Regions from separate parts of the Homo sapiens genome. Here region 2 is linked to region 1. The links are contacts of gene promoters, found by promoter capture Hi-C in blood cells and fetal thymus (Javierre and others, 2016). All regions are on one chromosome and are shown on one strand. Each heading gives the region's core, a stretch centred on a gene start or on the middle of the fragment in contact. The rest is flanking DNA. Distances are from core to core; before and after follow the strand shown. Region 1 holds the start of CLPS (colipase). Region 2 has its middle 13 kb from the start of LINC03135.

What was found. Contacts are between HindIII fragments. The CHiCAGO score rates a contact against its expected background, and 5 or more counts as called.
Region 2: a fragment that was not itself captured here is called in contact with the fragment with the promoter of CLPS in region 1 in 1 of 17 cell types (M1 macrophages); the score reaches 5.3 in M1 macrophages.

What each region holds. Positions count from the first base shown.
Region 1 is chr6:35,793,222-35,799,792 of GRCh38, reverse strand. CLPS (colipase) reads left to right here and starts at 2,470. Exons shown (of 3, transcript NM_001832.4): 1 at 2,470-2,588; 2 at 3,940-4,062; 3 at 4,516-4,811. The coding sequence starts at 2,505. The coding sequence ends at 4,647. It also overlaps a transcript of CLPSL1 not described here. The HindIII fragment of the contact is 2,191 bases long and covers 456-2,646 here.
Region 2 is chr6:35,527,256-35,533,826 of GRCh38, reverse strand. No RefSeq gene overlaps it. Among named protein-coding and RNA genes, the nearest start is that of LINC03135, 13 kb to the left of the region's middle. The HindIII fragment of the contact is 546 bases long and covers 2,310-2,855 here.

The DNA.
Region 1 (6,571 bases), core at 1,221-3,720:
AGAGGCCGAGGCAGGAGAATCACTTGAACCCAGGAGGCGGAGGTTGCAGTGAGCCAAGATCATGCCATTGCACTCCAACCTGGGCAACAAGAGCGAAACTCTGTCTCAACAGCAACAACAACTCTAAAACTCTAGTCTCCTGCACCTGCACAGCCGGCTCTGCATGAAATACTCTTTCTCCACTGCAATTCCCCTGTCTTGATGAATCGGCTCTATCTAGGTAGTGGGCAAGGTGAACCCCTTCAGTGGTTACATCCTGAGGGCTGTGTCACAGGCCATGGTTGCTCATATTTGGCTCAGAATAAATCTATTCAAATATTGTACAGAGTTTGACTCTTTTCATTGACAGGTACTTAATTTTTGCTTTCCTTTTAGAAGCACATACAGTGTCAAAGTTCTCTTTGCTACACTTCATTTGTAATGGAAAAAACTCCAGCCTTTTTTCTTTGCAAGCTTGGCTGAGACCAACTAGGGACAGGGCTGATGGTTTTCACAGCTCCCTTCATGGAGAGAAATCACTCCTCTGATTCCTTTGCCAGTCTCCATCTTGACTTGTGAGAAGGGAATAGTGATTCCCTTCTCTGTGGCTCACCTCACAGAGGTCCTGGGGGTGGGGAGCAGGTAGAGAAAAGAGAAGGAAGGATCAGAGTGAACTCATAGGAAAAAGTGCTTTCAAACATTGAGTTCTATAAAAGAGAGGGGGGATAGTGTTCTTTCATCAATGGTATTTCTGCATCGCTGGAACCAAATTGGTTTTTCTCATTTTGAGAGTCTCCTGGTTGTTCCTCCAGCTATTTCTCTACATTCCACACCCCAGGGATGTAAAGGTGAGAGGAAGGGGGTCATATTACATGGCTGGGCACCCACCATGTGCCAGGCACTTCCGAAGGTGTTCCACGTGCATTGTCTTAATCATGACCTCAGGAAGTAGGAGGCGTTATCCCCCTAAGATAAATAAGGAAAGTGAGGTTCAGGGAGCTTCACTTTCAATAATGTGTCTGAGGCCACGTAGCTCCAGTAAATGCTGAATTTTGAAGCCAGCTTGGTCTGGATCAAAGCTGTGCTTGAGGCTGGGCACAGTGGCTCACACCTGTAATCCCAACACTTTAGGAGGCCGAGGTGGGAAGATTGCTTGAGCCCACGAGTTTTAGACCTGGGAGGCTTAGGGGGAAGATTGCTTGATCTCAGGAGGTGGAGGCTGCAGTGAGCCAAGATGGCACAACTGCACTTCGGCCTAGGTGACAGAGTGAGACCTTGTCTCAAAAAATTAAATTAAATTAAATTAAAAGCTGTGCTTGAGGCCTGGGCCTCTCAGTGGAGCTGTCTTCTACCTCCTGGGATGGAGAGGGGAAGGGCAGGGGCCTCTGGCTGCCATGACTAGTCCTTCAGGAAAAGCTGCTCTGTTCCCATGCCTGAGCAAACTCAGGCAGCTGTGCCCTTCCCAGCTTCCTGAGGCCCCTGCTCCATCTGAGGCTCATGAGACCTCTTCATTCTCAGCCAGGACTAGCGACTGCTCACGCGCGCACGTGGCCTTGGGTAGGGGGCAGCGTGAGTGGAAACCTTAACTAAAGGGGTGAGTATCTGATGCTGGAATTGCAGATAGTAAGTGAGGTAGAAAGGAAAGGGGAGAGAGGCATTTAGGAAGGGCCTCCTAAGGGCCCTTGAGTCAGGCCTGCAGGCAGCCCCTGGTGTGAGGGCAGGGGGAGGGTGCCAAAGTGAAAGCACACACACCCTGGCCTGCTGGGGGTTGCAGAACTGTCAGCCCCAGGGATCTGGGCATGGCCTGGAATCCCCCGAGGAGACTGAAGGAAGGTTGAGGGGTGGGAGGCTAGGATCCTCGTCCCTGGAGTCTGACACTGCTAGACACCTGGGCTTGGGTGGGCCAAAGGCAAGGCCTGACTATAGTGAGGCAGAGAGGCCCCAAGTACACAGAATGTAAGCAGGCACTCACACCATAGGTGCCTCTCTTGCCTTGGATTCGTCCAGGCACTGCCCAGGAGCTCAAGACACAAGGGCAGCCACCCTTACCCACTGCTTATGTGGCATATGGGAATATACAATATAAATATATTCTTATAATTGTATATAATAATGTTTATATATATGTAACACATAAATGTGTATTAATTCAACCCTCACAACTCTTTAAATTATCCTTAGTTGACAGATAAGATGAAAGGCAGAATAGTTGGAACAGATAGTAAGTTTGCCTCACTAATAACTTGTACACAGTCCATACTCTTAACCACGATGCAACACAATTATCACCAACACACACACACACACACACACACACACACACACACACACGAAAAAGGCCACCAGGTACTCACCCAGTTTCCTTATCAGGAACCGCCCCACAGCAGATTGGCCACAGCTGTGCCTCTGCCCACGGCCAGCCCTGTGGGATGCAGGTGGATCTCGTGAGGTCAGGGCCCCTTTTATAGCCCCATCACCACAGCTGGCTCTGTCTCCCGCCACCCACACCAGCTGTCCCACTCACCATGGAGAAGATCCTGATCCTCCTGCTTGTCGCCCTCTCTGTGGCCTATGCAGCTCCTGGCCCCCGGGGGATCATTATCAACCTGGTAAGAGGGTCTTCAGGGGAGGCGCCTCCTGAGTCCCCAGATGAAGACTTCCTAAGCTTGGACCTTGACCTCTGATGTCTCCACCTGGACTGGCAGGGGCTGGGAGGAGTGGCATCTTGCATCCCTCTGTTTACTTCCATGTCCTGTCCTATGCCTCTTCCCAGAGGCCACAGGAAAGGCTGATCAGCCCCTCTCCAGCTCCAACTGGAGCATGCTCAGAGCAGCAGCTCAACCTGGCTATGAGGGACCTTTTTTTTCTTTTTTTTCTTTTTGAAACGGAGTCTTGCTCTGTCACCAGGCTGGAGTGTAGTGGCACAATCTCGGCTCACTGCAATCTCTGCTTCCCGGGTTCAAATGATTCTCCTGCCTCAGCCTCCCAAGAAGCTGGGATTACAGGTGCCTGCCATAACGCTCAGCTATTTTTTGTATTTTTAGTAGAAATAGGGTTTCACCATGTTGCCCAGGCTAGTCTCAAACTCCTGACCTCGTGATCCGCCCACCTCGGCCTCCCAAAGTGCTGGGATTACAGGCATGAGCCACCTCACCTGGCCCTACGAGGGAGCTTTGTAAAAATCCAGAGCCCTGGGCTTCCATCCTGAGAAAATGCTTTGCGCCAATCATTCCAGCTTCTGACTTATGGAGATGCCTCGGAGATGTTTACTCATTCTGTTCTCATAATAACCACTGAGGGAGGTGTTTTCAGAGTCAGCCCTGTCTTCAGACAGAGAGAGGGTGAGCAACCTGCCTGAGGTCACATAGCTGGAAAGTGGTTCAGCTGGGGCCCCACCACTGCCCCACACCACCTCTCCACCATGGGTCTTGGCTGGGAAAGCCCTTCCAGAACGTCCATGCGGTTGAAAGGTTCTGAACTCTCTTAACTTGGGGCCATGGCTGGACTTGGAGGTCCAGGACCCTTGGAGATTATAGATCAGATCTGTTGGGGGAGGAAGGAGTCTTGCAGGGAGATGCAATCTTCACCGCCTCCTTAAAGAGGTGTGGGACCCAGAGTGGTTTGGAGAACTTGTCTAGGGGCCTTGTGTGCACATTCCAAATGGGAACACTGAGGCTTGGGAGGCAGTGACTTGCCCAGAGTCACACAGGAGGTTGGTAGCACAGCCGGTACTAGAACCCAGGGGTCCTGACCCTCTGTGCAAGTCTGCTTCTCTGTCACCGCATGCCCACTTCTCACGTGGGTGGGGGGCACAGAGGCCACCAGACCCAGGGGATGGACTCCTTCACACACATCCCTACCAGGGGAGACACTGTTAGTGGTAGTGTGTGGTGGGTACAGGTCTGAATGGAGAAGGGACCTGAGGGAGTGGGGCCTGGGCTGACTGGCTGCTCCTGGCAGGAGAACGGTGAGCTCTGCATGAATAGTGCCCAGTGTAAGAGCAATTGCTGCCAGCATTCAAGTGCGCTGGGCCTGGCCCGCTGCACATCCATGGCCAGCGAGAACAGCGAGTGCTCTGTCAAGGTGGGTGCCTGAGGACTTGGCGTGGGTGGGGGAGAATGGGGAGTAGGGCCCTGAACACTTGTGAGTGGGATCAGGGAGGGGGGTCAGCCTGGACACTGAATGTTGAGGAGACGAGAGGGAGGTCGACAGGTGTCAAAGCACTTTCCCATCCCATCATCTCTCTTGACCCTCCCGAGTGACCAGTGAGATGGGTGGGGGTGGGGATTTGTTATCCCCATTTCATGGCTGGGTAAATAGAGGCTCCCCAGAGAGATCAAGCTAGTAAGAGCAAATGAGCCAGAGCAGAGGTCAGAGCTGGGGTCTCCAGGGCCCACGGCACCCCTGGGGAGGCAGGTGGGAGAGGCACTCCCCGAAAACACAGGCTGGCCTACTGGTTCTCTAGGTCAGGCAGGGGACAAGTGATGTCCAAAGTATCTCCCCATAGCCTTGACTCCATTGGCTGTGTCTCTGCAGACGCTCTATGGGATTTACTACAAGTGTCCCTGTGAGCGTGGCCTGACCTGTGAGGGAGACAAGACCATCGTGGGCTCCATCACCAACACCAACTTTGGCATCTGCCATGACGCTGGACGCTCCAAGCAGTGAGACTGCCCACCCACTCCCACACCTAGCCCAGAATGCTGTAGGCCACTAGGCGCAGGGGCATCTCTCCCCTGCTCCAGCGCATCTCCCGGGCTGGCCACCTCCTTGACCAGCATATCTGTTTTCTGATTGCGCTCTTCACAATTAAAGGCCTCCTGCAAACCTTTCCCAGTCTCCTGCATATTCTTTCTGACTCAGCATCTTCTCTGAAGTTGCATCAGGCCTTTGGTCCACCAGGGCAGGCTTCAGGCAGGTCAGAAGAACAAGGGATGGGTCTGGGGCTGAAGAAGTTGTGGCCAAACAGATTGGAGACTGAAGACAAAGCTGTGAAGGAGACCCAGCCAGCCTAGGAAACCCTCCATTTCTGGGGAGAAGTCACACCTACCTGGGATGCCCTCCTTGTCCCTCCGGTTCTCAAAGAGACAAGCGGGCACATGTGCATGCGCGCGCACATACACACACACACACACACACACACACACACACACTTGTGGGTAAGGAGTTTTAATGGCCCATGTTCGTCACCCTGCATCAGAGGCATCAGAATCCTGGGCTCTCACCTCTTTTCTGGACACAATTCTCAAATATGACAGCTAGCTGACACAACTCATGTGTTAAGGGGTCAGACCACTCTCAATTGCTATGAGCTTACTCTCTGCCAGCAAATGCTCACAAGGATCCCAGGAGGGAGAATTTCTCATCTCCACTTTATAGATAGAGACCAAGTTTCAGAGAGGAGCTTGCCCAATGTCACATAATCAGAAAATGTTGGCACTCTACCATCTAACTCCACTGCCCTGCTTCTATGATTCCTTTTTTTTTTTTTTTCTGAAACAGAGTCTCTCTCTGTTGCCCAGACTGGAGTGCAGCGGAGTGATCTCTTGGCTCACTGCAACCTCCACCTCCCAGGTTCAAGCGATTCTCCTGCCCCAGCCTCCCCTAGTAGCTGGGATTACAGGCGCCTACCACCACGCCCGGCTAATTTTTGTGTTTTTAGTAGAGACGGGGTTTCATCGTGTTGGCCAGGCTGGTCTCAAACTCCTGACCCCAGGTGATCCACCACCTCAGCCTCCCAAAGTGCTGGGATTACAGGTATGAGCCACCGTGCCCGGCCTTATGATTCCTTTTTCTTTCCCAATTATTCGCATTAAGAAAAATGGGTGGAAACTGCAAGGAATTTAATTTTGCCTTAATATAAAAATTGTATATCCCCTGGAGCCATCAAACATGAGTTACCTTAGGCAGTACTGAGGTGCCCATCATCCAGGTACGCAGGTGGAAGCTCACTGACCCCTCGGTGGAGATGCTAGAGAGGAGATTCCCACAGAGAGTGAGGGACAGTGAACTGAATGAAACTTCGATGTCGTCCCAGCCCCAGGATCTTGCAGTTCTGTGATCAATGAATCCTCCTGTAACCACAGGCTTATGAGTTAGGATTGCATTCAACTGTGAGTAGCAGAAAAACCCAAGTAATTATGGCTGAAGCAAATAGGAACGTATATTTCTCATGAATCCAAAGCAAAGACACAGGAAGTGCTGGCATTCTTTTGGTGGCTGGTAGCTCTTGACCTTCTCTTCAAGGTTGCCACATGCCTTAGCAGCAGCTCATGACTTCACGTTCTCACCGTATTCGAAGGCAGGAAGCATGGAGTAGCTGGCAGCTGGGAAGGCGGGAGAAGGAGCAGAGAGTTTCTTCTTGCATACCCTTTTTTTTTTTTTTTTTGAGACAGAGTTTTGCTCTTGTTGCCCAAGCCAGAGTGCAGTGGCACGATCTCGGCTCCCTGCAACTTCTGCCTCCTGGGTTCATGCGATTCTCCTGCTTCAGCCTCCCAAGTAGCTGGGACTACAGGCGCCTGCCACCACGCCTGGCTGATTTTTTGCATTTTTAGTAGAGACAGGGTTTCACCATGTTGGCCAGGCTGATCTT
Region 2 (6,571 bases), core at 1,333-3,832, 270 kb after region 1:
TACACCCTGCTAATGCTTATATTGTTTGTAGAAACGAGGTCTCACTATATCGCCAGGCTGGTCTCAAACTCCTGGGCTCAAGCAGTTTGTCCACCTCAGCATCCCAAAGTGCTGGGACTACAGGGGTGGGCCATCACACTCAGCCCGATACTTTCTTTAATAAGTGATGTTGACCCAACTTGCTGTCCCACTAGGAGGAAAATGAGGTGGAATCCCTACTTCTCACCAAAATCGTGAAAATAAATTTCAAATGCTTTAAACATATAAATGTAAACAATATTCAGAGTATATAAAATATATATAATTTTTTGAGATAGAGCCTCTCTCTGTTGCCCAGGCTGGAGTGCAATGGCACATCTCAGCTTACTGCAACCTCCGCCTCCCGGGTTCAAGCGATCCACCTGTCTCAGGCTCCCGAGTAGCTGGGATTACAGGCGCCCACCACCATGCCCAGCTAATTTCTGTATTTTTAGTAGAGACAGGGTTTCGCCATGTTGGTCAGGCTGGTCTCAAACTCCTGACCTGAGGTGATCCACCCACCTCAGCCTTTCAAAGTGCTGGGATTACAGGGGTGAGCCACTGTGCCCGGCCAGAGTATATAAAATATTTCAAACTAAGACCAGAAAACCAGAGCTATAGGAGAAGAGATACACATATAAAATTACATAAACATTTAAAACTGTATATAGCAAAAGATACCTTCATCAAAGTCAAAGGGAATAATAAAATGGGAAGACATTTGAAATCCATGTGACAGATAAGTTAATATCTATATTATTACAAAGAGCTCCTACACACCAATAAGAAAAAGAGAAATAATCCAGGGATGGAAATAGATCATTCAGGCCAGGAATGGTGGCTCACGCCTATAATCCTAGCACTTTGGAAGGTGGAGGTGGGAGGATTGCTTGAGGCCAGGAGTTTGAGGCCAGCCTGGGCAACATAGCTAGACCCCTTCTCTACAAAAAAATCTAAAATTAAAAAATTAAAAATTATCCAGGCATGGTGGCATACACCTGTATTCCCAGCTACTCGAGAGGCTGAGGTAGGAGGATCGCTTGATCCCAGGGGATTGAGGCTGCAACGAGCTATGATCACACCTCTGTCCTCCAGCCTGGGCGACAGAACAAAACCTTATCTCTAAAAACAAAACAAAAGACACACACACACGCACACACACACACAACTGTTTTGCAGAGGCTGGAGGGGTATAAGCTGGTAGAAGAAGAGAGACTGCCTGGTAGACCAGAGGGGGGAGTAGGTGTGGGTAAGGATGGTTTGAATTAGATGTCAATTTTAAACTGTGTGAAGGGCTGCATGGTTTTATAAGGAGTATAAAAATATGAAAGCACAGGTGTGGTCAACCCTTAAAAGTATGGCTATTAATGGGAGAAAAAGGCGATGCCAGGACCTGGAGGGGTTTGGGGAGGTTTATTCTAAGACACGGAGACTAAGCATGTTCACAGGCTTATGGGCGTGGGCCAGCTGGGAGGGAGGGGGACTGAAGGGGATTGAAAAGAGATAATGAGTGCAGCAAGACAGGATGGGATCTGCACATCAGAACCACCAGGAGCTTTTTCAAAATTCCCATCTGGGCTCACTCCAGAACTACTCACTTAGACTCTCCAAATGTTGAGCCAGAGAACCTGGGCTTTATTTTATTTATTTATGTATTTTGAAACAGAGTCTTGCTCTGTCGCTCAGGCTGGAGTGCAGTGGCGTGATCTCAACTCACTGCAACCTCCACCTCCCAGGTTCAAGTGATTCTCCTGCCTCAGCCTTCCTTGTAGCTGGGATTACAGGCACCTGCCACCATGCCTGGCTAATTTTTGTATTTTTGTAGAGATGAGGTTTTACCATGTTGGCCAGGCTGGTCTTGAACTCCTGGCCTTAGGTGATCTGCCTGCCTCAGCCTCCCAAAGTGCTGGGATTACAGGCATGAGCCACCATGCCCAGTCAGAACCTTGGTTTTATTATTATTATTATTATTATTATTATTATTTTTAGATGGAGTCTTGCTCTGTCGCCCAAGCTGAAGTGCGGTGGTTCAATCTCGGCTCACTGCAGCCTCAGCCTCCTGGGTTCCAGTGATTCTCTTGCCTCAGCCCCCCAGGTAGCTGGGATTACAGGCACGCAGCACCATGCCCGGTTAATTTTTGTACTTTTAGTAGAGACGGGGTTTCACCATGTTGGCTGGGCTGGTCTCGAACTCCTGACCTCAGGTGATCCACACACCTCAGCCTCCCAAAGTGCTGGATTACAGGTGTCAGCCACCGCACCTGGCCAAGAACCTGGGCTTTAAATAAGCTTCTTGAATAGCATCAAATGATAAATCGATTACACAGGAATGAATGTAACAAAATATTTGCAAAGAACACTACAGAAGGCCAGGTGCGGTGGCTTACACCTGTAATCCCAGCACTTTGGGAGCCGAAGCGGGTGGATCACCTGAAGTCAGGAGTTTGAGACAGCCTGGACAACATGGTAAAACCCTGTCTCTACTAAAATTACAAAAATTAGCTAGGTGTGGTGGTGCACGCCTATAATCCCAGCTACTCAGGTGGCTGAGGCAGGAGAATCGCTTGAACCCGAGAGGTGGAGGTTGCAGTGAGCCAAGATCACACCACTGTACTCCAGCCTGGGTTACAAAGCAAGAGCCTGTCTTAAAACAAACAAACAAACAAAAAACAAAAAACAAAAAAGCACACACACAGGGAAAGAGTAAACTTTTCAGTAAATCAACTGAGTGTGCTCCTATGGGGAAAAAAATGAAACCTGACCCTTACCTCACACCATCAACAGATAAATTCCAGGTGGGCTATAGTCTTCAATACGAAAAGCAAAAGAATAAAGCTTATAAAAAATAATATAGGGTTAGGTGTAGGGGCTAACACCTGTAATCCCAGCATCTTGGGAACCCAAGGCAGGAGGATTACTTGAGTCTAGGAGTTTGAGACCAGCCTGGGCCACATAGGGAAACCCTGTCTCTAAAAAAGTTCAAAAAATCAGCTGGGCACACACCTGTGGTCCCAGTTACTCAGGAGGCTGAGATGGGAGGATCACTTGAGCCTGAGAGGTTGAGGCTGCAGTGAGCCATGATCATACCACTGCACTCCAGCCTGGGTGACTGAGTGAAACACTGTCTCAAAAAGTAATATAAATAAATAATAAATAAATAAAATAGGCCGGGCGCGGTGGCTCATGCCTGTAATCCCAATACTTTGGGAGGCCAAGGCAGGCAGATCATCTGAGGTCAGGAGTTCGAGACCAGCCTGACCAACATGGAGAAACCCCGTCTCTACTAAAAATACAAAATTAGCTGGGCGTGTTGGCACAGACCTGTAATCCCAGCTACTTAGGAAGCTGAGGCGGAAAGATCACTTGAACCTGGGAGGCGGAGGTTGCGGTGAGCCAAGATCACGCCATTGCACTCCAGCCTGGGCAACAAGATCAAAACTCTGTCTCAAAATAAGTAAATAAATAAAAGTAAAATAAAAAATAATAGGGAGTAGCCAGGTGTATGGCTGGCACCTGTAGTCCTAGGTACTTGGGAGGCTGAGGCAGTAGGATCACTTGAGTCCAGGAATTTGAGACTGCAGCGAGTTATGATCGTGCCGCTGCACTCCAGCCTGGACAACAGAGTGAGACCCTGTCTCTAAAAAATAATAATAAAATGTTTAAAAATTAATTAAGGCAATAAAAATTAAAAATAAATTTTAAAAATTAATGTATAATTCCATTTATATAACACTCCAAAGCAGGCAAAACTAATCCACATACCCATAGAAATCAGGGTGGTGGTGCCTTTGAAGGTGAGGAAAAGGATGAGGCTTTTGGCACCTGACAATATCTATTTCTTGACCTAGTTGAGGTTACAAAGGAGTTGGCTTCATAGTAATGCATTAACTTGTACATTTATGTTTTATGCACTTCTCTGCAATAAGTATGTTTTACTTCACATAAAGGTTTTAATAAAAAAGAAATCTTCCCTGTAATTTTTTTCTTTTATTTATTTATTTTTTTTGTGACAAGGTCTGGCTCTGTTGCCCAGGCTGGAGTACAGTGGTATTATCTCAGCTCACTGTAACCTCTGCCTCCTGGGCTTAAGTGATCCTCTCACCTCAGTCTCCTGAGTACCTGAGACTACAGGTGCGCACCACCATGCCTGGCTAATTTTGTATTTTTTGTAGAGGCAGGGTTTCACCTGTTGCCAAGGATGGTGTCAAACTTGTGAGCTCAAGTGATCCATCCACCTCAGCATCCCAAAGTGCTGGGATTATAGAAGTGAGACACCTTGCCCAGCCCCAAATAATTCCGATGGACAACCACATTTAGAGAGACTCCTGCTCTAGAGCCTGCTGGAGAGACACTATGAAAGTCAAGTCTGGGCCGGGCGCAGTGGCTCATGCCTGTAATCCCAGCACTTTGGGAGGCCAGGGCGGGTGGATCACCTGAGGTCAGGAGTTCGAGACCAGCCTGACGAATATGGAGAAACCCCGTCTCTACTAAAAATACAAAATTAGCCGGGCATGGTGGCACATGCCTGTAATCCCAGCTACAAGGGAGGCTGAGGCAGGAGAATCGCTTGAACCTGGGAGGCGGAGGTTGCGGTGAGCCGAGACCGCGCCATTGCACTCCAGCCTGGGCAAGAAGAGCGAAACCCCATCTCAAAAGAAAAAAAAAAGTTAAGTCTGTGGCCGGGCACGGTGGCTCACACCTGTAATCCCAGCACTTTGGGAAGCTGAGGCGGGCGGATCCCCTGAGGTCAGGAGTTTGAGACCAAACTGGCCAACATGGTGAAACCCCATCTCTACTAAAAATACAAAAATTAGCTGGGTGTGGTGGTGCATGCCTGTAATACCAGCTACTTGGGAAGCTGAGGCAGGAGAATCGCTTGAAGCTAGGAGGCGGAGGTTGCAGTGAGCCGAGATCGCACCACTGCACTCCAGCCTGGGGCACAAGAGCGAGACTTCATCTCAAAAAAAAAAAAAAAAAAAAAGAAAAACAAAAAAAAAGAAAGAAAAGTCAAGTCTGGCCAGGCGCAGTGGCTCATGCCTGTAATCCCAGCACTTTGGGAGGCCGAGGTGGGTGGATCACCTGAGGTCAGGAGTTTGAGACCAGCCTGGCCAATATGGCGAAATGCTGTCTCTACTAAAAATACAAAAATTAGCGGGGTGTGGTGGCACGCACCTGTAATCCCAGCTACTGGGGAGGCTGAAGCAGGAGAATCGCTTGAATTCTGGAGGTGGAGTTTGCAGTGAGCCAAGATCGTGCCATTGCACTCCAGCCTGGGCAATAAGAGCAAAACTCCGTCTCAAAAACAAAACAAAACAAAACAGAAGTCAAGTCTGTTTCAAGTGATGTGAACCAACTCTGATTCACAGATCTCAAATACTGACTCACATACAGAACCTGAAAAATCCAGAGTAGATTCAGGAATGGCTACTTTCAGATACTCCAACAAGATCATTAGGAATTGGTCTCTTTATCTCTTTGCTCAGATTTTCTCATTCTCCTGCAGGCTCCCCACTGAGGACAGCTCCCCACTGAGGACAGCTCCCAGCAAGTCCAGGCTATGTCCTTCCAGTCGAGCCACCTGAACAGAAAGAAAACATCTCCTTCTTTGAAGTCTTAGCAATAGTCCTGGGGCTTGTTCTCCCTACACTGGCTAGAGTCGCATGCCCATGCTTGACCAATGGCTGAGGCCAAAGGACTAACATAGGATGGGTGACCAGATGTGGGTCATGGTCTGTGCCTCTAGTTGGGGAGAATGGAGTCAGCCTCAGCTGAATCTGATTATCCATATGGGGGGAAACTGGATTTTCCTCAAAGGAAAAGTGGGTACCATTACCAAGAGAAAAGGAAAAAGATGCTTGGGCAGAAGAACTGGGAGCTACGGGTTGGAAGTCCCAATGGGGTCAAAGAAGAGGTGTGGTGGAGGAGACTGTCGTCAGAGAATGGGCATCTGAATTGTAATTTGAGAGGTGGAGCAGTTTCGGGTGATGACAGGGTCCAGGGCATGGCCATGGCAGTGGGTGGCCCAGCTGTCCAGGAGCCAAGACACCAAGGTGTTGGTTTTCCAGCCCCATGAGGAGTCTTCATTAATAAGGGTGTCACCCTAATAAAGCTCAGTCCCACACGCTTCAGTCTCAGAATAGTATCTGATTCAAGATATACAACTTGACTGGGTGTGGTGGCTCACACCTGTAATCCTAGCATTTTGGGAGGCCAAGGTGAGAGGATTGCTTGAGCCCAGGAATTCAAGACCAGCCTGGACAACATGGTGAAATCCCATCTCTCTACAAAAAATACAATTACTGTGGTGCACGCCTACAGTCCCAGCTACTCAGGGGGCTGGGGTGGGAGGATCGCTTGAGCCAGGGAGGTTGAGGCTGCAGTGAGCCGATATCCCACCACTGCACTCCAGCCTGGGCAATAGAGTGAAACCCTGTCAAAAAAAAAAAAAATTAATTGCCTAAGGTAATTAAAAAGCCATTTCCTTTAAAGTCAAAAGATTTTAAAATGATTCATATACATATACATAGTCAAAGCCACACTAATAAAAATCCCC